6 separate regions of the Homo sapiens genome follow, and all the other regions are linked to region 2. Evidence: promoter capture Hi-C in 16 types of primary human blood cells and fetal thymus (Javierre and others, 2016). All regions are on one chromosome and are shown on one strand. The core of a region is centred on a gene start or on the middle of the fragment in contact, and the rest is flanking DNA. Distances in the headings are between cores, read along the strand shown.

Region 1 (3,356 bases), core at 529-3,028, 710 kb before region 2:
AAGTCAAAGGGAGTAGTACAATGAAATTTCCTTTCGACTTCCAAAGTGGAGAAAACACCATTCTCCCCAGTGAGGCTGGAAGGATCCGGTCCTCTGAGCTTTTCCCAGCCTCTTTGGCTGCTGCTGAGGACTCAGTATCTTCTACAGCATGCACATTTTCAATATGTAGGAAATAAAGGGTCAGTGATAGCCACAAAAACCTGGCAAAAGTATGCAGAGTCCCCTTGCCCAGGCCCTCCTGACACCTCCTTCTCCTGCGACAGTGATGTATGTTCGTTACCCTGTTTGAAATAGGGAAACAAAGTCTAGAACCTTAATACTCTGGAAGATGCTAAATCTCCTCCTTCCTTATTGTAATTATTACCCCAATAATTAAGTTGTGGGTGATATATTCTTGCTTATGTGTCATTTTATTGAGAGTTGCAGAATTTTAGGAAAAATGTTGTTTCCAGATTTATGTGGGAATATGAAAATATGAGGTTAGGGAACTTTAAAAAACTCTTTGTAATTGGTCAGTACCAGACTTCCTAATTCCGAAACTTTGGTTCTGCCCCAACCCATAACACATTACAATTCTAGGGGTTAGCTCAGTGTTTAATCTAAATTTTACAAGAGTATAGAGACCGTATAAACATCTTCAGAGCTGAAAGTTCACAATACCTGATGAGGCATCCCACTCCACCTGCAAAACCTCCTTCTTGTGGTGAGACTTTCTATTTTACTCGGCCCCATGTCAGATAGAGGGTAGAGCATATTCTGTAGGGGGTTGGGTATGGTTTCCCTGGCCACATATGTTAGTCAGTCCACCAACTGCCCTGAAAAAAATCTTTGACTTTTTTTGATTGTGAAGGTCATTTGCTGAAGGATGGAATTAAAATCTGAAGTACCAATTTAAACAAAAGCTGTGAGTCACAGTATTTCAAAAATCTTCAAACAGTAGCTCCTCCTAGGGAATCCTCTTCACCTGTTGACTAACAGCTGCAGATTTAACAATCTGGAGTAAAGTCAAGAGCATTGCACAAAAACAAGCTAGGGAACCTATTCTTAGCAACTTATTACCAGACTAAAATACTTCTGGGCTTTTCAGTTTCATAAGACCTTTTTTTAAACCTGATATCACAAGGCTATTATTAATCATAGATGAAATCTATAGTAGCATGAAAAAACGACCAGATTGCCCTTAGGGTACAAGAAATTTGGGGCCGGGCGTGGTGGCTTGCGCCTGTAATCCCAGCACTTTGGGAGGCCGAGGTGGGCGGATCACTGGATCAGGAGATCAAGACCATCCTGGCTGACACGGTGAAACCCCGTGTCTGCTAAAAATACAGAGAATTAGCCAGGCGTGATGGTGGGCACCTGTAGTCCCAGCTACTCGGGGGGCTGAGACAGGAGAATCGCTTGAACACAGGAGGTGGAGCTTGCAGTGAGCCGAGATTGCACCACTGCATTCCAGCCTGGGTGACAGACTCTGTCTCAAAAAAAAAAAAAGAAAGAAAGAAAGAAAGAAATTTGGGCAATTGTGTTTTGATCACAGAGAGGACCCATGTGCTAGGGACTTAGGATGTCTTGGGTGGGTAGTGGCCCTTCCTTCCGCAACTCAAAGGCTTTATCCAAATACAAACACCTCTTCCCCCAGCCTTCTTTAAGTTGCCGTTAGTGTTAGTGTTAACACCTGATTTCATCTATATGCGAATGAGCTCCATAAGCCAACAAGGTAAACTCCAGCTGTGGCTCTTAGGAAGTTAATTGCTGCTTTAAGAGGGTTTATTTAATGCTATGGTGGGTTACTGAGAGAGTGATGCTGGTTTAACTCTAACAAGTTTGGTGTGCTAAAGGGTCAGACATAGAGAAATATCAAAGTAGCTCGAGAAGGAGCAGGTGTTAGGGAAAGGGATATTTTTAGGATGGGTTGGAGTACTTGAGCATGTTTGTAGGCTGGGAATGAGAATCAGTGGCAAAGACAGTCTGGGTGCAATAAAATAAGTTGGAAAGAGAACTTGAAGAATAGAGTAATAGAATAGGAATTGAGTGATAGACATGACTCGGACCAAGAGGAGGACAGAGGACTAACAGTCTCTTTGAATGTGTGAAGGTCTGGCCGTTTTGTAGAGATGACAGAGACAGAAGCAACGGGGAACACACTTTCTTTGTAACAAGGTCCTTAGGTCCAATGAGTGCTGTCTGTGAAGTTTACTACGGGTGAGTAGGTGTCATCATTTTGAGTCTGTCAAAGGCAGTAGTCTCTGTAGCCTCTTCCAGACTGAGGAGTCTTTAATTCAACTTGTAGTACATGAGCCCCTTTTTCTCTTTTTCCTTTTTTATCTGACTTTAAAAGTTAGGAGAGCCCCTTTCTTTTTGATGCCAAACTGCCTTCTAGTTTTTAGACACTTAAAGAGCTGCACTGCCTCAGGCCACTTGTTTTACATTAATAATAATGGCATGTTTCCCCTTGCTATATAAAGTTACCATTAATGTGTACTTTCAATGGAGCTAATTAATTTGCAATGATAAATGCATGCTCCTTGCTTGATTTCTGTTGTGAGCCACGCATGAGTTAGAGGTGGCATTTATGACCATGGAACAGAAAGAAACTTCTAAATTGCACCAAGAACCTGGCCACATTGACAGCGTGCCCTCACTAAATGGAATGGCCAGCCTAGTTGACACAGGTGAAGACAATGTCAAAAACAGAACATTGAGTATTTGAGTATTAGAGGTCTCAGAGATCATCCTGTCCTCCCTCCTCATTCTGCAGATGGCCAAGCTGTGCCCGCATTCCAAGTCCTTATCCAGAGCTCTCTCCATGACAACCTTCTTAGTGACAGTATTACTTAATGTTTTTATTATTCCACACTGCTTTTGCTAGCACTCATGGAAGAAATGATTTTTATTCTAAAGAGAACAAACATGGACTATAACTTATCAGTGATAAAAAATAAAACCATACAATAGAGAGGAGGAATTTTAATAATGTTTAAATTTCATAGGTGTAAAGATTTCCAAACCATCTTACTTATTACTAGTGAATATTGGTGAGTTTACATGCTTTTTTCCTTCTACCTGTTTGGCCCTGTACAAAAATCCAACTCTCTGAAACTTTCCCTCATCTGTAAAATATTTATTTGGCAAAGTTGTTATAAGGATTAGAAATAATGTGTCAGTAGCTGGAAATCTTACTCAGAATTGACTTTAATTCTGTTAGTCTTCTAAATCCTTAAAGAATTAAGAATTGCCTTGAAATTACCATTGGATATAACAGAGTATTGTCAGTGAGTCTTTGGTGGAGTTGGGTTTCATGTGAGATCAGGCTTTTAAAACTGCCCTCCTCAGATGAAGAAAAGCTCCAGTGAGCTCCA
Region 2 (3,724 bases), core at 111-2,610:
TTCCTTCCTCCCCCTATTTTAGAATCCCCAGTATGTAGACAAATTGTTTACTTTTATAGCTGTAATTAACCTTATTATAGCTCAGCCTCAACCCTTTAGAGAGGAGGAAACTAAAGCCCATGAGACTTGCTTAAAGATACTAAGTGAACATATTTATTTTTTAAAGTGTTAAAGTGATTAAACAATGTAGACGTGAATGAAATAAAAAGCGTAAGTTCCCCATCTTCATTCCCACTCCATAGAGCTGATCAGTATTTTTACTTGCAGACATTAGTGGAGCCGTAGAGAAAGAAACCTTTTCTCCAAAAGAAGGCATTACTTTACACACTCCGTTCTGCAACTTGTTTTGTTCACTTGCTATTTCACGTCAGCCCATGCAGATGACTTAAAACAAATTCAAATGGAGAAAAGCCTTAGGCATGTTTTTCTCTGCACTAAAGAGGCCCTGCAGGTGGCTGTGGCCAACTTATGCAGTGGCTTCGAGTGAACGAACGTAATTAGTAATTAAGCAAAGCGGGCATCCAGGACATTCAGTTTCATCTTCCTGGCACTTTAGTGTTTAGGAAGGGCCTGGCCTCTCGGGGAGCGACACTCCTCGCCCGGCCACTTTGTAAGAAGCATCGAGCGTGGAAAAGGGGCTGGGGTCAGCACTGGGGCCCTCTGCCGGGAAGAGAGACTGGCGGCCAGCACACGCGTCTCCCCAGGCTGAAATGGGGCACCCTCTCGCGGCCCTTCCCTCCCTTCCCGGGCTGGGTGGCAGGTCTTGGCTCTTCTGCGAGTACCCCGCGGCTGCGGTCTCCCGGCACCCGCTGAGCAGCCTCGCCCGCCTTCCTCTCCCACCCGCCCCTGCGTGCTCTCCGGGGCTCCGGCTTCCTCGGTCTGGTGCCTGGTGCGTATTTTGGAAAATACCTGGCTCATAACCACCTCATTGAGCTCCCAGTGTCCCAGTGGGCCAGCGGACACACACGGGTAGCTGACTTCCCTAACGTGTCCCCAAAGCCTCCCTGGATTACAGCGCCCGCTGCTCCATGTGACCCCGCGGGAGCCAGGACGCGCCCCGCCTCCCGGGGCTGCAAGTTGCGCAGGGAGCGAGCGATGCGCAGCAGAGCTGGGCTCCGAGCCGGATGCGCCTTCCTTTCCTCTCCAGAGCAGGCTGCCCGCCCGCGGAATCCCGCACGTAGAGCAACCTCGCAGCACCCTCAGAACAGCCCCGCTGGGGCGCGCCGGGCTGCCGCGGTGACCTTTCCGACGCCCCTGACCCCGCATCCGGAGGCGGCCGGAAGTGTCGCCGGCCTCCTCCCGGCGCAGCCTCCGGGCCTCCAGTGCAATCACTACGCCCTGGGGCCCGGAAACCGTTTTCCGGTCTTTCGCTTTCGGCTGGGGCGTGGAGGCCGCGGTGCTGCGTAGGCCGGGCCGGGCGCAGGAACAGCCCCGTGGCGCCCTCTCTGGCCGCCGCCCGGGCGGGAAACGTCGTTCCGGGGACCGGGCGACCCCGCAGCGGGGAGCGCGCCAGGTCCGCGCGGGGAAGTGGGCGGTGTGCGGCCGGCACCGCCTCGCACCACGCCCCCGCGGGCCCGCACTTTCCCGGAGTGCACCCCGCGGCCGCCAGCCGGGGCGATGGCGGGGCTCTGGCTGGGGCTCGTGTGGCAGAAGCTGCTGCTGTGGGGCGCGGCGAGTGCCCTTTCCCTGGCCGGCGCCAGTCTGGTCCTGAGCCTGCTGCAGAGGGTGGCGAGCTACGCGCGGAAATGGCAGCAGATGCGGCCCATCCCCACGGTGGCCCGCGCCTACCCACTGGTGGGCCACGCGCTGCTGATGAAGCCGGACGGGCGAGGTAAGGGCCGGCGCTCCTCCTGGAGCGCAACGGGGTCCGCAGCCCCGTTCCCACCCTCCGATCAGCCAGGAACCCGCTGCTTGTGGCGCTGGCCGCAGGAGAGAGGAGCCTGTCACCCTGTGGAGAATGCACTCCCAGTTCTAGTCGTTGCCCCTTGGCACCCGCCGACACTGCTAGTGCCCCATCCCAAAGTGAGCATTTTCTTTGTGTGTAGCACAGGATGCGGTATTTCCAAACCCCTGCCCTCGGTCTTTTCCCACCTCACCGCTGCTCAGCTCTCAAAGCCCTGCCGTTTCCTCCTGCCTTGGCTTGGGAAGCCTTAGGAACAGAAGCTCCCTGGGAGCACAGAGCGGTTTTAAACTGGCCAACACCTTAACGCCCAGAGCCGCCCTCCTCTCGCTGCCACTTTGGAAAATAAGAGACTAGAGATTCACTGGACGCTTCCTCCCGGCATCACAAGACTTGACTGCTGCTTCAGTTCCCGCTTGACCTTCATACTTTAGCCCTTTAAAGGATGTTACATAATAACAATTAAGAGACGGCAGGGCCTTCAGGCAGACTTCTTTGGAGGGTGTCAAACGCCTTGTTTATTAAAGAGTGAATTTTTTAATTAAAATCATGTTTTAAAACAGAGATGGACATTTTATTGATGGAAAAAAATCACGTTAAGTTAGAAAGCTCTCAAAAGTACCTGGTATTTACAACTCCCTGTCAGGGAGGGCGAACTCGATCTCAGAGTTTTATTTTCATCAGGGATTACGTTGAGGTACCCAGAAATGAGAAGATTTGCCCAAAATGGCATATTTTAAAATTGGCCCAGACCAGAACCCAGTTTCCTCTGGGATTATTTGTTAGTAATCGTTTTACAGGCTGAGCATTAACTAACTCCAAAGCTTGAAGGACTTTTTCTCATTTTCACTTGTTTTCTCTAATAAAAATAATGCTGTAATTTCAACTTCACAAGATGAGGCCTCATGGAAGAGTGTTTACCAAAATATTAAAAATACTTTGACAGAAAAAAATCAAGCGAACTCTTTGCCAACCAAATATCATCATGACTGATGTAACAAGTAATCCAACACAGATATGAAAATCACACTGGTAAAAATCATCTCAGTTAATTCTAAAAGCAGAGCTAACCACCCCTTTTGTCCTAAGGCTTTATGGTATTAAAAAATAAACTGTACAAAAATATAGATTTTCCCCTATCCCCTACCCCTGGAAAGTAATATACTGAAGTCTCATCATACTGTTTTGGGGATTCCAGTAATTAAAATCTCTAGTGAATAAAGACCTGTTTCAAAACAACCTGTGAGCTGACTGGACTATTTAAAGTAATTCTCCTTGTAGTCACTTTCAGAGTGAAGACAATGACGAATACTGTCTTTTACAAAGGGACTTTTTATTCCACCAACAAATTCTGGATTTTGGCATCAGGAAAACCACTGTTCAATTTCCAACACTATATCCAAGTTGTTTGAGAAATTATTTAAAACTCTTTAACTTAGAGGGTTTTCTTTCTCCTTTACTTGTTAAAGTGACTATATTACAGAGTCACTTTAAGGATTAAATTTATTGCATGCAAAGTTTCTAGATCACTGTCTAGAAGTCAGTTAGAGTAAGTTCTTTAGTTGTCAATCAAGCATTTAGTAAGGCCCTGCTTTGTGCCCAGTGTTGACCTCAACAAAGTTGGGGATATCAGAATATTCTAAGATACAGTCGTTGTTCCCAAGAATCTTGTCTTTCACATACAAGAGGTGTTGCGTTTCATTTTGCGGCTAATGTCCAAACGCTGGCCTCAGCCATTTCACCTTGAAGATTGCAGTTGGCTTCCAACTGGCCTCTAAACTCTAATCTAGCATTTTCCAGTCCATTGTGACAAAGTCTGCCTTC
Region 3 (3,632 bases), core at 75-2,574, 550 kb before region 2:
CCATATTCCAACAAAAGCCATGATTTTGACATTGTTCTACTGTTTTATTGACTCGTTGCATTTACAAGTTTTGCTAATGATACACAGTCTACACTTACTAATAAATTATACTCACAGTGTTTTTAGTGATGTGACTTTGTTTCAATATTTTATAATAAAAGATTATAGGAGTAATTACAGACAATGATAGAAAAGTTTGAGGCATCGTGACAAAATAGTGCAAAAGCCTAAGTTATCCAAAAGATGTAGTGATCATAATTATAAAGACTGTGTAGTGTCCCTGGGAAATGCTTACAATGAGATACCAAGCAGTCAAAACGGAATCTAACCACGCACCTGTACAGTAGTTACAAAGGTATTACAAAGCTTGTCTCTGCATGAACACAGTAAAGAAGTCACACATACACAAACGACTACAATGGTGTTCTGGTATTGCGACTGTTTGTTTTTTCTTTCTTTTAAATATTATTTTGCTTTATTGTTGTAATGTTATTTTTGTAATAAATAAATTCAGAGAGAACATCCTACTATTAGACATAGGAAAATGCCTAGAAATCTTGAGATATTTTTCCTTCTTTATGCCAGTATTATATTTGGTTTACACCTCAGAAGTAATAGTGAAATTGGTAGAGACAAAATATTCTAGTAACCAATTTGCTATTTTCTGTTGAATTTAAAAATTTAATTCAATTTATATTTGATTCAATAGTTGCAATAGTATTAATTGAGATTTTAATGTCCATAAAATACTATTTTTCTCCAATTATTATTTAGATCATTATAGATGCATAATTGTTCGTGAAATGGCTTTGCTGGAGCTGGTTTTTAGGGTAACTGACAGGAGAGAGAATTTCCAGTAATTTCTCTTCTGTTTAGAGAGACATACTATTTCTTCTACAGGAAAACTAACCTCTGACTCTTTTAAACTTCATAGTTTCTAATGTTACACACTGAATGATATCATTAATTATTATAACTTCTGTTTTCAAGAATAGTATTTTGTTTTGCCAAGGGGAGATAGAAACTTCTCTTAGAGGAAACGAATCTGTTTAAGAAACATTATGAACAGCAGAGGGCAGCCAACTTACTAAATGAATAAGACTTGTTAGCTATGTAGCTTCACTTTGACTCCCACATTAAGAAAATATGTAACAAATGGATATACCAAGTCCTGATTTATAGTAATGCATCTCTATGATAGAATATGGAAAAGGAAGCAGAATATCTACCATCTTGCATCATACCTTAGAATGGCAGTTTTCCATGAATTATGCTTTTGTTTATTTAAATAGTCAATTTATAGTTACAATGGGCAACTATCTAGAATGCATGCCAATAGAAATTAGCAGAGAAAACACCCAAAACAATGATAGCTGGTAATTATCGATAACTTTGGAATGCAATGAAAGGCACATGTTTGAGCAGAGTTGTGTTAAAGGAAGTGTTAGTGGCAGAACTAGAATTTTCTCTTTGCTGTGGTTGCCGTATTGAATCTTTTAAGTCATGCAATAATTAAATGTCCTATGGTGACCTGGAGGCACTGCTAAGGAACACAGAAGCCTCGCAACAGTCAGTGACACACATACAGATGGTCAGTCAACAGATGGATATACACACAAATCACTAATCTCAGTAATTTAACACTTTCCATGTGGAACATGGACATTCCTTTGAGTACAGCACTAATATTAACACTCAGAAACTCATTTAGGAGGTATGATTATGGTTTACTCTAATTGCTCATAAAAGGCAAAAGAGCAAAGATACTGATATGCATCTTTCTAGCCTTGGTGTGATTTTTTTGTTGTTGTTTCTTTTCATTAAAAAAAAAAAAAAACCCACCAGCAAACCTCCGTTTAAAACTAACTTTGTTAGTCATCAGTGCAAGAGGACGTGTTCAAGAAAAGCTACAACTATAAATCACAAGTGATCCTTACTTAAAAGCTACCAAGGGTGAACAACTTTAAAAATTTTAGTGTTTTCTATAATTTAAAAGCATTTAATTGCTTTTGTGGTTATCGAGATTCCACTAAGTATTCTCAGTGAGGCATGTGCTTTCTATACGTTGTTCTAAACAAAAAGAAGTGCCAGGGCTATTTTGTTTTTCAAATTACGCTCATTCCATTTTAAGTTTTAATGACATTGACTACCGTGTTTTATATTTATTGTGGTTTCACAATAAATGCTATATACATTATTAGTTGGGATAATTCTTAATGGTCATCAGATGAAACTCCTTAAATTTTTATAGTTAAGTATTGACTGACAATCTTTATTGATAAAGAAGCTTAAGTTCATTAAGGGTTTAAGTTGCATTTCAACTCTGCTACAGTGTTTTCAATGACTATTTTCTTCTGCTTTTATCATTATGTTCAAGTTTAGTTATTGTAGGTTAGGGTAACATTTTCATATATTTTTTTTTTACTTTATCAAGCATACAGAGGTCCTAAACAAATGCTTTATTAATTTTTTTTTTTAAATTTAACATTACTCACCTACAAACATATCCAATGCAATGGGATATAAAGGTTTTAGTAATATAATCCCAGCAGAGTTTTTATGATTGTCTCATGGAAAAATTAAATTGTGGAAATACGGTTCTGATTTGTGGTTCGAGTCAGTTCAAGGCAAATTCCTGGTGACTGCTAAGTACTTTTCCAGATCAAACATTAGGCCCAATTAATTAACATTTCTAAATTTACAGTCACATGAGTATTTATGAGCTTCAAAAAAGTGCGCTCACTTTTACTTTCCCTGTTAAAGAACATAAACGCATATGCCACTGATTCCTAAGGAAGATCTCTTTGCCAGGGTCTTGGGAAGATTTTTGTTCAAACAGTACTACCCCCCTGCCTTCTCTGTATCCCAGGGAATCGTGGAATTATGAGTCACTACTAATAGCAGTGTGTCAAACCCCTCCAAGAATGTTTTGAGACCCACTGGGCCTTTTGCACTAGAAATATATAGGCTTCATGGATAAACAACAGAACAAGGATTCAGTCCCTCACCAACTTTTTCCACTGACTGCAAGGGTGAAACCTGTGTTCCTTCATTCACTTAGAAATTCCACGAATGCATATTCACTGAACACCTGCTACAGGCCAGGCATCGTCCCAGGTGTTGGGATACAACTGGTGGACCAGTCACAGCCCTCGCCTTCAAGAAGCTCAAGATCTCATGAGGAACACAGTGTGCCATGGGCACACAGCAGGGAGAGCCTCCAACCTAATGCAGAGGAGTCAGGCACATTCCCTGGGGGAGGTGGGACTGTGCTGGGACCTGGAGGATGGGATAGAATTCTCCATGTGAAGGAAGAGGTGGTGGGGAGAGCTTTTCCTGGTGGGGAGGTGCAGCCTTTACAGAGGCCCAGCAATGCGGGAATTGAAAGTTCTCTGTGCAGCTGGAACCTAGCGAGGCAGGGAGGGTGGGAGGAGAGATGAGGCTGGAGAGGTCAGCTGGAGCCCAGTCACAGGTCTTCTATAAATTATGCTCAGGGTTTCAGATTTTGCTCGAAGGACAGTGAAGAGCCAGAGAAAATTTTGAGCTGGAGGTTTTATAAAGATTTTCTAAAGATTGCCTTCGCTGTGGTGTGGAGACTAGACTGGAGAGGTAGGGAAATGAATCAGGTGGCT
Region 4 (3,619 bases), core at 728-3,227, 990 kb before region 2:
AAGGATTTTTGTTTTTCCCCCCATCCCCTACACTTGTCTCCTTGCCAGACTGGGAGCTCCTCGTCACTTCCTCATCTTTATAACCCCAGTACCCAAAGGAGAACCTGATGAATTTAGTCATTCAAAGAATGTTTATCCCACAAAGGAGTTTGGAGTTAGGAGATTTAAGATTGAGCCATGCTCTTTGCTACCCACGAGGGTAGAAAAATCGCCTTGTATGTGTGTGGCTGGGCATGGAGGCTCATGTGCGGTGGCTCATGTTACAGTCTCATGCCTGTAACTTTGGGAGGCCCAGGCAGGCAGACCACTTGAGCCCAGGAGCTTGAGACCAGCCTGGCCAACATGGCCAAACCCCACCTCTACAAAAAATACAAAAATTAGCCGGGCGTTGTAGCTCTCGCCTGTAGTCCCAGCTACTCCGGAGGCTGAGGTGGGAGAATCGCTGGAACCTGGGAGCTGAGGCTGCAGTGAGCCGAGATCAGGCCACTGCACTCCAGCCTAGGCAACAGAGTGAGATCCTATCTCAAAAAACAAACAAACAAAAAAAATCACCGGGTTTCAACCCAGTTTCCTTGATAGTTTCCTGCCATCTTCCCCCACCCCTCCGGAAGCACAAACCACAACTATGCCTTTATCTGCATTTCCATGATAAGGTCATGCAGTCCCCAAGAGCTGGAAGCCAGCTGCCTCCCTAAGTGGTCACAGTTCATGCGCCCTGGTGCATAGTCCGGTGCCTGTGAGACTTTTCAGGTTTAAATTTTAGTTAATAATATCCAACAGAGTTACTGTAAAGATTTCGACACTCATGTGACTTAATTTACAGGAAAATTTACCCAACAATCCCATCCACTGAGCAATTCTTTTGATAACATTTACTACGAGGTAAGTGATTCAATTTACCAGAGAATAAGAAAAATGACTTAATAAAGTAGTTAAGATTCTCTTTACAACAGACTAGGAAAGGATAAAATTAAAGGATAGTTCATCAGACCATAACAACCCTTTGGTGCTCAATCAAGACAGAGTTTTGCCAGGAGGGGCATGGCTCACGCCTGTAATCCCCGGACTTTGGGAGGCCAAGACAGGAGGATCGCTTGAGCCCAGGAGTTGGGAGGCTGCAGTGAGACATGATCGTGCCACTGCACTCCACCCTGGGCCACAGAGCGAGACCCTGTCTCAAAAAATAAAAATAAAAAAAAGAGACAGGTAAGTTTTTATCAAAGCTGCCTGAGAGTCACTGGGCACGCCCCACTTGCCAGGTCCTACAGACCAGCAATAACAAGACTAATGCTTTCACCAAACATCAGGAAAATACACAGAAAAGCACCGGGCACTTTTTAAACTGTCATCTTGTTACTGTGACAATACATTTCTGTAGTTAAACAGCACAGTAGGCCTCCAACAAGATGCCCAATTGGGTACATGAAAATCCCGGCCCAAATTAAACACCTGTTTCCAGGAACGCTAGGCTCTTGTCTACATCCCCTACCGTCCCCGGAAGGCAGATAACCCCTCGGGCCTCGTGGGTTAGGTTCGAGTCCCTACAAGTAGGAAGAAGTCGTCAGGGCCCGGCATGTGGTCGCGGCCCAATCTCAATTTAGGGCTGATCCTGACCCTCAAAGCCACCCGGAACGCGCGAGAGGGCGGGACCCGCCATTCTCACAGGGGACCGGGGTGGAACGGCGCCGCGACCCGCCGCCGCGGGCGCCCCTGTCGTGGGGGCGCGGTCTCCCACCGTCCGCGCAGGCTTCGTTAAACCCACCCCGAGTACTCGCCGCCGCCTGGGCTCCGGAGCGGGGAGACGGATGCGAACGGAAAGGAGCGTGGCGGGCGCCCCGCGAGCAGGGAGCCAGGAGCCGCTCGCGCGCCCCTCACCTGAGAGCCGCGGCCACCACAGCCCCACGCGCGGCGCTGGCGCACTCCCGCGGCCCTGAACGGGCTCCCGGCGCCGCGCGCCCGCGCTTCCGGAGGCGGAGAGAGCGGAAAGGGAAAGGAGGGGCGGCGTGGGGCCCGGCGCTTCGGGAGAGGCGGGGGCGCACGCCGGGCCTCGTGCGGCCCTCGCGGCGGGCGTCACAGAGCGCGGCGGGCAGGCGGCCAGGCCGGGGCTCCACGCGGGCGGAGTGGAGGCCGGGCCAGGGACGCGCACACTAGAAGAGCCGCGGAAGAAGGCGGTCCAGCCCGCGTGGTTGCCATGGCGCCCTAGAGGCGTTACTGCTGCTCCCGGCTGCCTAGGGCGGCGCGGGTAGGCCCCGTTGTTCTCGTGCGTTAATAGGGAAAGCTGCCTTGATTATCTTGTAATTCTCTACCAAACCAAGAATAAAAAAGAACGGCGGCTGTGTGTTTGTGATATTTTCTATCAGCAAATTTCAGTTCATACCACTAGTTAGTTCTGTGGACCAGAGGCTGGTTTCAGAATGGAAAGACCTTTGCCGAGTGGTAAACGAGGTGGGTAGTTAAAACAATCTAAGGTAAAAATGATCTCTGCAGAATATATTGAATACAATAACTTCTCGTTGAACTCTCAGGTATGGTAGGATGATGGCACCCCAAAAATGTGCACCTCCTAGTCCCCACAACACGTGAATATGTCACCTTATGTGGCAGACAGGATTTAGCTGATGTGATTAAGGATCAAAATGGGAAGATTAACCAGGATTATCCAGTGAACCCCATGGAATCACAAAGGTCCTTATAAGATGGAGACAAGAAGTTCAAAGTCAGTAGTGGGAGCTGTGAGCACAGAAGCTAGAGGTTGGAGTGATGTCAGAGGCAATGAGCCAAGGAGTGCAGGTAGAAGCTGCAAAAGGAGGAAACGGATTCTCTCCTGAAACCTCAGGAAGGAACTAGAGCCTGCAAATTTTGATTTTAGACTTAATACCTTAAGCACTGTAAGACAATACACCTGTGTTGTTTTAACTACTGAATTTGTAGTAATTTGTTATAGCAGCAATGGTATACAATCCAGTAGTTAATAAATATTGTTCACATCTAAGTGCAAAGAAGGGTAGGAAATATGGGTCTTACCCTGCCTGTCCCGGGGAGTTCCAGTAAGGATTGTCTATTTTCGTCCTTCACAATGCATTTTGTACTTGTTGGTCTTAATTACCAAAAGTATAATCAATTCTCTTTTTGTTGCCTAAAAGACAGCATTGGCTGGGCGCAGTGGCTCACCCCTGTAATCCCAGCACTTCGGGAGGCCGAGGCGGGTGGGGCCCCCTGAGAGGAGTTCAAGACCAGCCTGACTAATATGGTGAAACACTGTCTCTACTAAAAATACAAAAATTAGCTGGGCGTGGTGACGTGAGCCTGTAGTCCCAGCTACTCGGAAGGCTGAGACAGGAGAATCGCTTGAACTCCGGAGGTGGAGGTTGCAGCGAGCCGAGATCGTGCCACTGCACTCCAACCTAGGCAACAGAGTAAGACTGTGTCTCAAAAAAAAAAAAAGCAAGAATTTCACTTTCTTTTAAAGTGCTTAATAAAACTGTGTTGGCACCACTTTCCAGGGATAGTTGTTAAACTGTGGTTGGCCCGGCGCGGTGGCTCACGTTTGTAATTCCGCACTTTGAGAGGCTGAGGTGGGCGGATCACCTGAGGTCAGGAGTTCCAGACCAGCCTGGCC
Region 5 (3,547 bases), core at 350-2,849, 730 kb before region 2:
CACCACACTCCAGCCTGGGTGACAAAAATGAAACTCCTTCTCAAAGCAAAGTGTACTCTCTTCTCTGACTTGAATTTGGAAGGAGAAAGAACTGGACCTTCTAGCAGATCTTCTGCCACCACAGGGAGTCTGAGAATCCCCTACTGTGGAAAGCAGAATCAGGATACAGAGTGAGACCTATTTTGACGACACAAGACCTGATCATGTGGACTCAGCCATCCTGAAGTGAGCTCTCTCCAGGACTTTCATTTACTTGAGCTATTAAAGTGTATTTTTTCCCTAAGCCAGTTTGAATTAGACTTCATGTCACCTATAATGAGGGTCCCTATTTGTAGTCTATATATAGACTTTAAACGTGTATTGAAAAAATCAGCGAGTGCTATCTCTTTGGGCTTGTTTCCAAATACAAGTATAACAGAGAGAAGAATGTAGTTTCTTTAAAATAAATTTTGAGCCTAGAATATGCTGTGGCCTCTATTATATTAAATTCTGTGTCAGCTAATCCATTGGCTAGTGACCATCAGCTTAGAAGATGGGATGATACTTCAAGGTGAGATATTTCATATATAGATCAAAAGAAACATACCATGCTGACATTCTGCAAAGTCTGCATTCGCAAAGCCTGAAATGATTCCAACTGCTGCTGAAGGACCTATGACAAAAGTAAAGTATGAAATTGAGTATTTTTAGGTAGGTAAACGTATTCTTGAATTGTTATGATTTTATGTCTCCCAAAGTTGCCTATTACTTGAAAAGATCCCGTGAGGGTCAGGTGGTTCACATTCTTAGGCATTTTGCTAACTCCCCAATGTGCTTTCATGGAGATCCTTGTGAGGATAAAGTGAGAGAACCCGTTTGCATTTAGGGAGTATTTATTCTGAAAAAGATCAGCCTTTACCCAGAATTTTGGAGATGATAAAATGGAATATAGACTCACTTTCAATGCTGATTGTGGTTGGATTTGATTTTCTGATTCTGCTATGCAGCCATATTCTAAGAAGCAAAATTGAAAAACCATGTGACTTAATTCTTAAATTTTATTTTTTAAAACCTGTAATAGAAAGCAGTCTCCTAACTTGCTTGGATAGTGAGGCAGAGATAATGAGAACTTCTGATATTCACACTATGCTAGTCACATAAGCTTAAGTGATAATTCTCGCTTGACTTAATATATCCACTTGAGGTTGTAATAGTGTCTTCACTTTTAGAGTACACCGTTAATTTGCAACACCACACTTAGAACTCTCAAAAACTCAAATATCAAATATCTTTGTTTCTGGGATATAAACTGCATTCAAAAAAAACCTAATAATGCTCATATTATGGGAGACCCTTGGCAAAGTAGTATACAGGCCTCAATTTCTGTGAAATTTCCATGTGACATTTTTCCCCTTATGGAAACCAAGTTGGATCAACAGCATAATTTTTGTCCTGGCTTAAGCACAGTACGCACTTGTGGCTTCCCTTGGGAAGGGCAGTTTCACATTCACAGTCTTTAGATCCCCTCTTGGCCATGTATGAATGGGCCTGGGCCTGGAACACTTCTTTACCAAGGGGACTCTTTTTAAAGTCCTCGTTCACAGCCTGTGCTGGACTTGCTACCATGTGTGGGGATAGCACTCCCCGCTTCAGACTCAGTGTGTACTCCTTTGTTCTGCTTAAGTGTGTGTGTCATATGATACCTGGCCAACCCTGCTACTCTGTCCCCTGCTAGATTATAGATGGGCCAGAAGGGGCCCTCTGGCCATGGGGAACCAACACCCACTACTGAGGCTGATCTTGCTCCGTCTCTTCATTCTGTGAGTAAAGGGTTGTTGCATCCGGTGCTTGACTGTTGTGTTTTGCTTGGCGACTCCGATACTAAGATACAGTAGACAGAAGTACTCCAGCTTCTTTTGATAATAGGCAGAATGTCACTTGCTTGATACCGTCCTGGATAGATTATAGATCTGCAACAGGGGGAGACTCTATCATGTTTGCAAATGCCCTTATATCCCTCTTTGTCTGCATGTTAGGCTGCTTGCTTTGTAAACTTTTTATTAAAGAGTGTATTCATAAAAGCTTTCAGTGTCCTAAGTAAAATGAGAGCTATGATGGAACGTTCCCCTAGGCTGATAATTTCTGCCCTAAGTTTTAAAAGAGGTCAGCGAATCTCCTTTGGATTGGCAGGCTGTCAGATGTTAGAGAAGCCGCTTGCAAAGTACAGGCACCCCTTCTGCTCTCTGACCCTCACCACCAAAGGGGCAACGCTGGTTTGGAGCCTGGAGCTGCCTGGCTATTGAAGAATCCCACCTTCAGTCAGAGGGTGGGGAGGGAGAGCGAGTCTGTCTGGATCTTGCTTAGCTTTGCCTCCACCTTCAGTCAGAGGGCGGATCTTGCTGTCTGGATCTTGCTTAGCTTTGCCTCTTCTTGGGAATAAAATGGCAGCTAAACTCCTGGTATCCTGAACTGTTCATCTAAAAAATAAGGAACTGAAGGAAGGCCCAGACCAGCATAGGAAGGAAACACAACGTTTTTCAGACTCTAAAGTAACCTCTTCTAATGAACTTAACTAGACCAAAGTGCAAATCGGGAAGAATATACCACCTAGAATCCTGCCACCCACAACGAACTGTTGTTAATTTTAGGTGCCATCTTTCGGTCAGCTCTCTATGCACATAAGTGGATGAAGTGGAATCATTTTATACATAAATGGTATTTTACATAAATATTGCCTATATTTACTTGAATTTAAGAGAATTTTTAAAACTGCAAGTAGTGGAAATTATTTCTAGTATTTGGATTTTTTTTTACTACATGAGAGATATTATTTCCTAAGAGATCCCTGTAAACTAATGAAAATTAACATGAAAAGAATTAAAGATTGAAACCTTTATTGTTTCAATAACATACAGTTCTATTGTATTCATTGTTGACTTACTCCCTGCCAAGAGAGATGAGAAAATTAGCATTCTATTTCCTTCCATGCCTACTTCCCTCTTTTCATGGTATTTGCTAGTTATGTGATTTATACACTGTGAAGGTTTATGTTTACATTCTGTTCTGTAACTGTAATTTCCACACAGCTCTTTATTTAAACACGAAGATAGGATATCATTCTCATAAATGTATTCAGCCTTCAACTCTATTCTGAGTGATGTAACTGTTCAAAATTCTATCTCCTTCCCATACCTACAGGAATAGCTTCCTTTTTCTGTACAGATTTCCTTTCATTAGGAGGATTTGCAAGTTCAAAGCTAAATATAAGATTCCTTTAGCTAAAACCAAATAAGAAATATGAGACCAAAAGAAATGTACAGACTTAATAAAGGGATACAGTAAATCAAAGATTTCAAAGAAAGCAATGGGATTTATACATGTTGTCTACATATATTTTCCATCTTCCATCTCTTCTTCCTTTTTTGGCCTCACCGTGATTGCACTGTTACTAAGCAGCTTAGTGGACCCATGGGAGCACAAGATGAGGACACGTCGGAGCAGGAGACAGGGGCTAGGTTATGCAGAGCCTCCAGGCCAAGCTGAGCGGGTTGGCTTTTCCTTCAAGTGA
Region 6 (3,343 bases), core at 831-3,330, 590 kb before region 2:
TCTACATATCATAGTTTTCTTAACCATTCCTCTCTTTTTTTTTTAGTTTTGAAGTTAGAATTGGTCTAGTCTTTTTTTTTTTGCTATCATAAACAGCAATGCTATACACATTTTTTATGCAAAGAGCTATTTTCTTCTTTTGAACTATTCTTTAGAATATATTCCCAGGAGTAAAACTTCTGGCCAAAGAGTATGCATTAAAGCCATATGATTTTGAGAATGTACATGTTAGTCACTGAAAAATACTGTACTCAAAAGTAACTTGAAAATGTCTAATATGCCAGACTGCATATCATATACCAAGATAGCTACTACTCTTTCCCCAAAACAATCATAGCACCATTTGCAGTGCATAATAAAGTTATGAATAAGAAAATATTATTTATTCTTGTCTTAAGAGAAAATGTTGTGTAAAATATATTTCATTATGCTCTAAAATTGGCATCCCTGTTTTCACACATTTAAACCATTTTAATATTTTAAAATTGAGTAAAAGTTTCAACTTCTACATCATGGCATCCAATGCTTTGTAAAACTGGTTAGTTTCATTTCATTGCTCTTTTGTTAAAATGTGAATACCACTTTAAAAATCAAATTGTTCATTAATGTAAAACAATCAACTTTTAAAGTCCGTATATCCCTTTTTAGTTATCATCATTATAATTCTACTAGTTTAATTCCTTTAACTCAACCCACCTCATCAATCATTTAACTGAACTGTCCCATTGACCATTATGAAAATTTGGTGATTGCTGCAAACCTGCAGCTTCCTGGATCCCACGTCCATGGCTGGAGAACGTATGTTCCTGTGTGGGGCAGCCAGCACCGTCCTTGCTTTTTTTTTTTTTTTTTTTTTTTGAGATGGAGTCTCACTCTGCCACCAGGCTAGAGGTCAGTGGTGTGATCTTGGCTCACTGCAACCTCTGCCTCCCGGGTTCAAGCGATTCTCCTGCCTCAGCCTCCCGAGTAGCTGGGACTACAGGCACGCACCACCGTGCCCAGCTAATTTTTGTATTTTTAGTAGAGACAGGGTTTCACCATGTTAGCCAGGATGGTCTCGATCTCCTGACCTTGTGATCTTCCCGCCTTGGCCTCCTAAAGTGCTGGGATTACAGGCGTGAGTCACTGCGCCCGGCCCCCGTCCTTGCTTTTACCTGTTTCCCAATTTCTCTTTTCCCTTCCTTCATATCTTTCAAACCCTGCCCCTCTTTTTACACACAAATCATCAGTTTTCTATACTGTTCACATCCTGAGGCCAGAATCAATCAAGACTTTTCGTAGCAGAGAAGTTGTGTGTGTCTTATAATGGCGAGTTTTAGAACTTTTCAAAGCTTACCTTTAACAAGAATCACCTCCATGTTAATGTGGATAACTAGGAGACAGTTTTGAGGAAAGCTGACTAATTACAGTACTTGAAATAGTTTATTTTAAAGGCATTTGACTAGTAGGGAATGAGTAGCAAGAACAGTTATCTAAGACGGCTCATCTGCGTCTTTCTGTTTTGGGCGTTAAGCACCATATAACCTTGGGGATGCCTCAGCTTCCCTATCTCTGAAATCAATGAGTTGGACAAGATGAGGGTTAATCGGGTCCCCTCAGGGATTCCATGAAGGATACACATTTCCACAGATGTATTTCCTCTGCTGTGTAAAGGTGTCCGTCATCAGTTTTACACAGAGAGCTGGGACACTGACATTGATTGGTTAATTCTCATGTGTCTCGGTCACGTAAAAAAAAATAATGGTTACAATTCAACTCCATTTTGCAGAATGGTAAACCAAAACCCAAAGATACTGGATAATTTCTTAATACGACAAATAGGTAAAAAACAAACAGAAAAAGAAACAAAATGGTAATTTCGATGTGCACGCTATTGCATGAAAGATTACTATGATGGACTACTTGGCCTACCTTGGCTAAAATCAGCATCTTAATTTTGACGCTGAGGTAGGTGCAAATGTCCTATAAGGTGATGTAAATAGATTATCTGGGGAGACTGTCTTTCGCCCTTTCCCCTTGGTGATGTAACTCAAATGGCAAGTCGCTTAAGCAGAGATTTGTAATGCAGCTGCACTCTGTCGCCACCTAGTGGTGAGCAATGGCAGCAACAAGCTGAGAGTTGTTTCTGCTTTATCTGCCCCTTTTTATCCAAGTTCCCAAGGCTGGAAAAATTTTAAAAGCCTATTTTAAAGGCCGCAGAGTGATGTGGAATAGACAGTCATCTGTTTTCCTAACCATGTTCTTCCCTCCCCACGTTTTAAATTTTTGAGAAAGCATCCCTTGTAAAGCCACCAGCATTTTTGGTCCGTGTCCATTTCTATTTTGACTATCTGTGCAGGCATTTCCATTTCCCCTAACTTCTTAGCAGTTTTAAGATAAATATAGAACAATATACACTTGTGACATTCAGAGAGGCTTACATGAGCTGAACCTAGAAAGATGGCTTTCAACTGACACATTACAATCACTGTGCTGGGCATTTTGAACAAGAATTATATTATGCTTATATTTCCTTGATGAATCTTAAGAGTAGAACAAGAGAAAAATCCAGTGAAGCATGCTGCGGTTTTCATCGTATCCTAAATATGTATTTTTTTCTGTAGCCCTGACTATGTAAGTATTTTTCTGTAGCTATTTTTTAATGTTGTCAAAAACGGATACAAAAGAGACAAGTTTTAAACACATGCTAATTTCCAAAGCCAGAACCAATCACAAGTTGCTGTTCATAAGGAAGCTGGTTTGAAACATCATGGAGTCTGTAACATCAGTAAAATATATACTTTCCGATCTTAGTGAGCTACAGTCTGTTGAAAAGCCGTCTAATTTATCAAAGCTTCTGCAGTTATCTCTGGAGGATTAGCTATATTTAGTATCAAATAATTCTTAAAGAAGGATTGACTGTTACTTTAAACACTAATGCAAAAAAATCTCTGAAAGCAATATAAGCAGTGCTAAAGTGTTTTTATCTTTTTTTATAAAATATTAGTTGTCATATTTGCCCACCAGAATTCGATGAAATTCTCCTAATAATACCACGTTTATGTTTCTAGAGGCTTATTTTTCCTTCTTAAATTATGAAGGTAAAACACAACTTTGCATAAATCTAAAAAAATAGAATATTTATGGTTCACACAAACACACGTGTAATCTGACATACAAATACATAATGTAAAAATCAGGCAAAAAATAAAAAAAAAACCTTAAGGGGAACACAAGCATACCATCTCGTGGACCCACAGGAGGGTTATAGATGGGTCCTTTTCACTGCAAAAGAAGCTTATGTTTTGCTTTGGCTCTGGAAGGCCATTCGGGGGAGTCTAAGAGTCTCTACAAATTGGCATTT

What was found. Contacts are between HindIII fragments. The CHiCAGO score rates a contact against its expected background, and 5 or more counts as called.
Region 1: a contact is called between a fragment that was not itself captured here and the fragment with the promoter of CYP4V2 in region 2, in 1 of 17 cell types (naive B cells). The highest score is 5.2, in naive B cells.
Region 3: a contact is called between a fragment that was not itself captured here and the fragment with the promoter of CYP4V2 in region 2, in 3 of 17 cell types (M2 macrophages, M0 macrophages and naive B cells). The highest score is 7.3, in M2 macrophages.
Region 4: a contact is called between the fragment with the promoter of CFAP97 here and the fragment with the promoter of CYP4V2 in region 2, in 1 of 17 cell types (M2 macrophages). The highest score is 6.6, in M2 macrophages.
Region 5: a contact is called between a fragment that was not itself captured here and the fragment with the promoter of CYP4V2 in region 2, in 1 of 17 cell types (total CD4 T cells). The highest score is 6.2, in total CD4 T cells.
Region 6: a contact is called between a fragment that was not itself captured here and the fragment with the promoter of CYP4V2 in region 2, in 2 of 17 cell types (activated CD4 T cells and naive B cells). The highest score is 6.6, in activated CD4 T cells.

What each region holds. Positions count from the first base shown.
Region 1 is chr4:185,478,849-185,482,204 of GRCh38, forward strand. No RefSeq gene overlaps it. Among named protein-coding and RNA genes, the nearest start is that of CCDC110, 8.8 kb to the left of the region's middle. RefSeq lists an enhancer at 1,397-1,898. The HindIII fragment of the contact is 4,138 bases long and covers 1-3,356 here.
Region 2 is chr4:186,190,207-186,193,930 of GRCh38, forward strand. CYP4V2 (cytochrome P450 family 4 subfamily V member 2) reads left to right here and starts at 1,361. Exons shown (of 11, transcript NM_207352.4): 1 at 1,361-1,831. The coding sequence starts at 1,618. FLJ38576 (a long non-coding RNA gene) reads right to left here and starts at 1,284. Exons shown (of 1, transcript NR_046264.1): 1 at 1-1,284. RefSeq lists a silencer at 1,158-1,687. The HindIII fragment of the contact is 5,614 bases long and covers 1-2,722 here.
Region 3 is chr4:185,639,939-185,643,570 of GRCh38, forward strand. The region is part of intron 13 of SORBS2 (sorbin and SH3 domain containing 2); the gene reads right to left. Among named protein-coding and RNA genes, the nearest start is that of SORBS2-AS1, 54 kb to the left of the region's middle. The HindIII fragment of the contact is 1,921 bases long and covers 365-2,285 here.
Region 4 is chr4:185,202,023-185,205,641 of GRCh38, forward strand. CFAP97 (cilia and flagella associated protein 97) reads right to left here and starts at 1,978. Exons shown (of 5, transcript NM_020827.3): 1 at 1,876-1,978. It also overlaps a transcript of SNX25 not described here. RefSeq lists silencers at 1,511-2,280, 1,890-2,061 and enhancers at 2,821-2,930, 3,041-3,130. The HindIII fragment of the contact is 9,685 bases long and covers 1-3,619 here.
Region 5 is chr4:185,462,057-185,465,603 of GRCh38, forward strand. It overlaps CCDC110 (coiled-coil domain containing 110), which reads right to left. Exons shown (of 7, transcript NM_152775.4): 3 at 938-993; 4 at 587-652. Among named protein-coding and RNA genes, the nearest start is that of CCDC110, 7.9 kb to the right of the region's middle. The HindIII fragment of the contact is 920 bases long and covers 1,140-2,059 here.
Region 6 is chr4:185,595,696-185,599,038 of GRCh38, forward strand. All of the region lies in intron 24 of SORBS2 (sorbin and SH3 domain containing 2), which reads right to left. Among named protein-coding and RNA genes, the nearest start is that of SORBS2-AS1, 9.4 kb to the left of the region's middle. The HindIII fragment of the contact is 1,502 bases long and covers 1,330-2,831 here.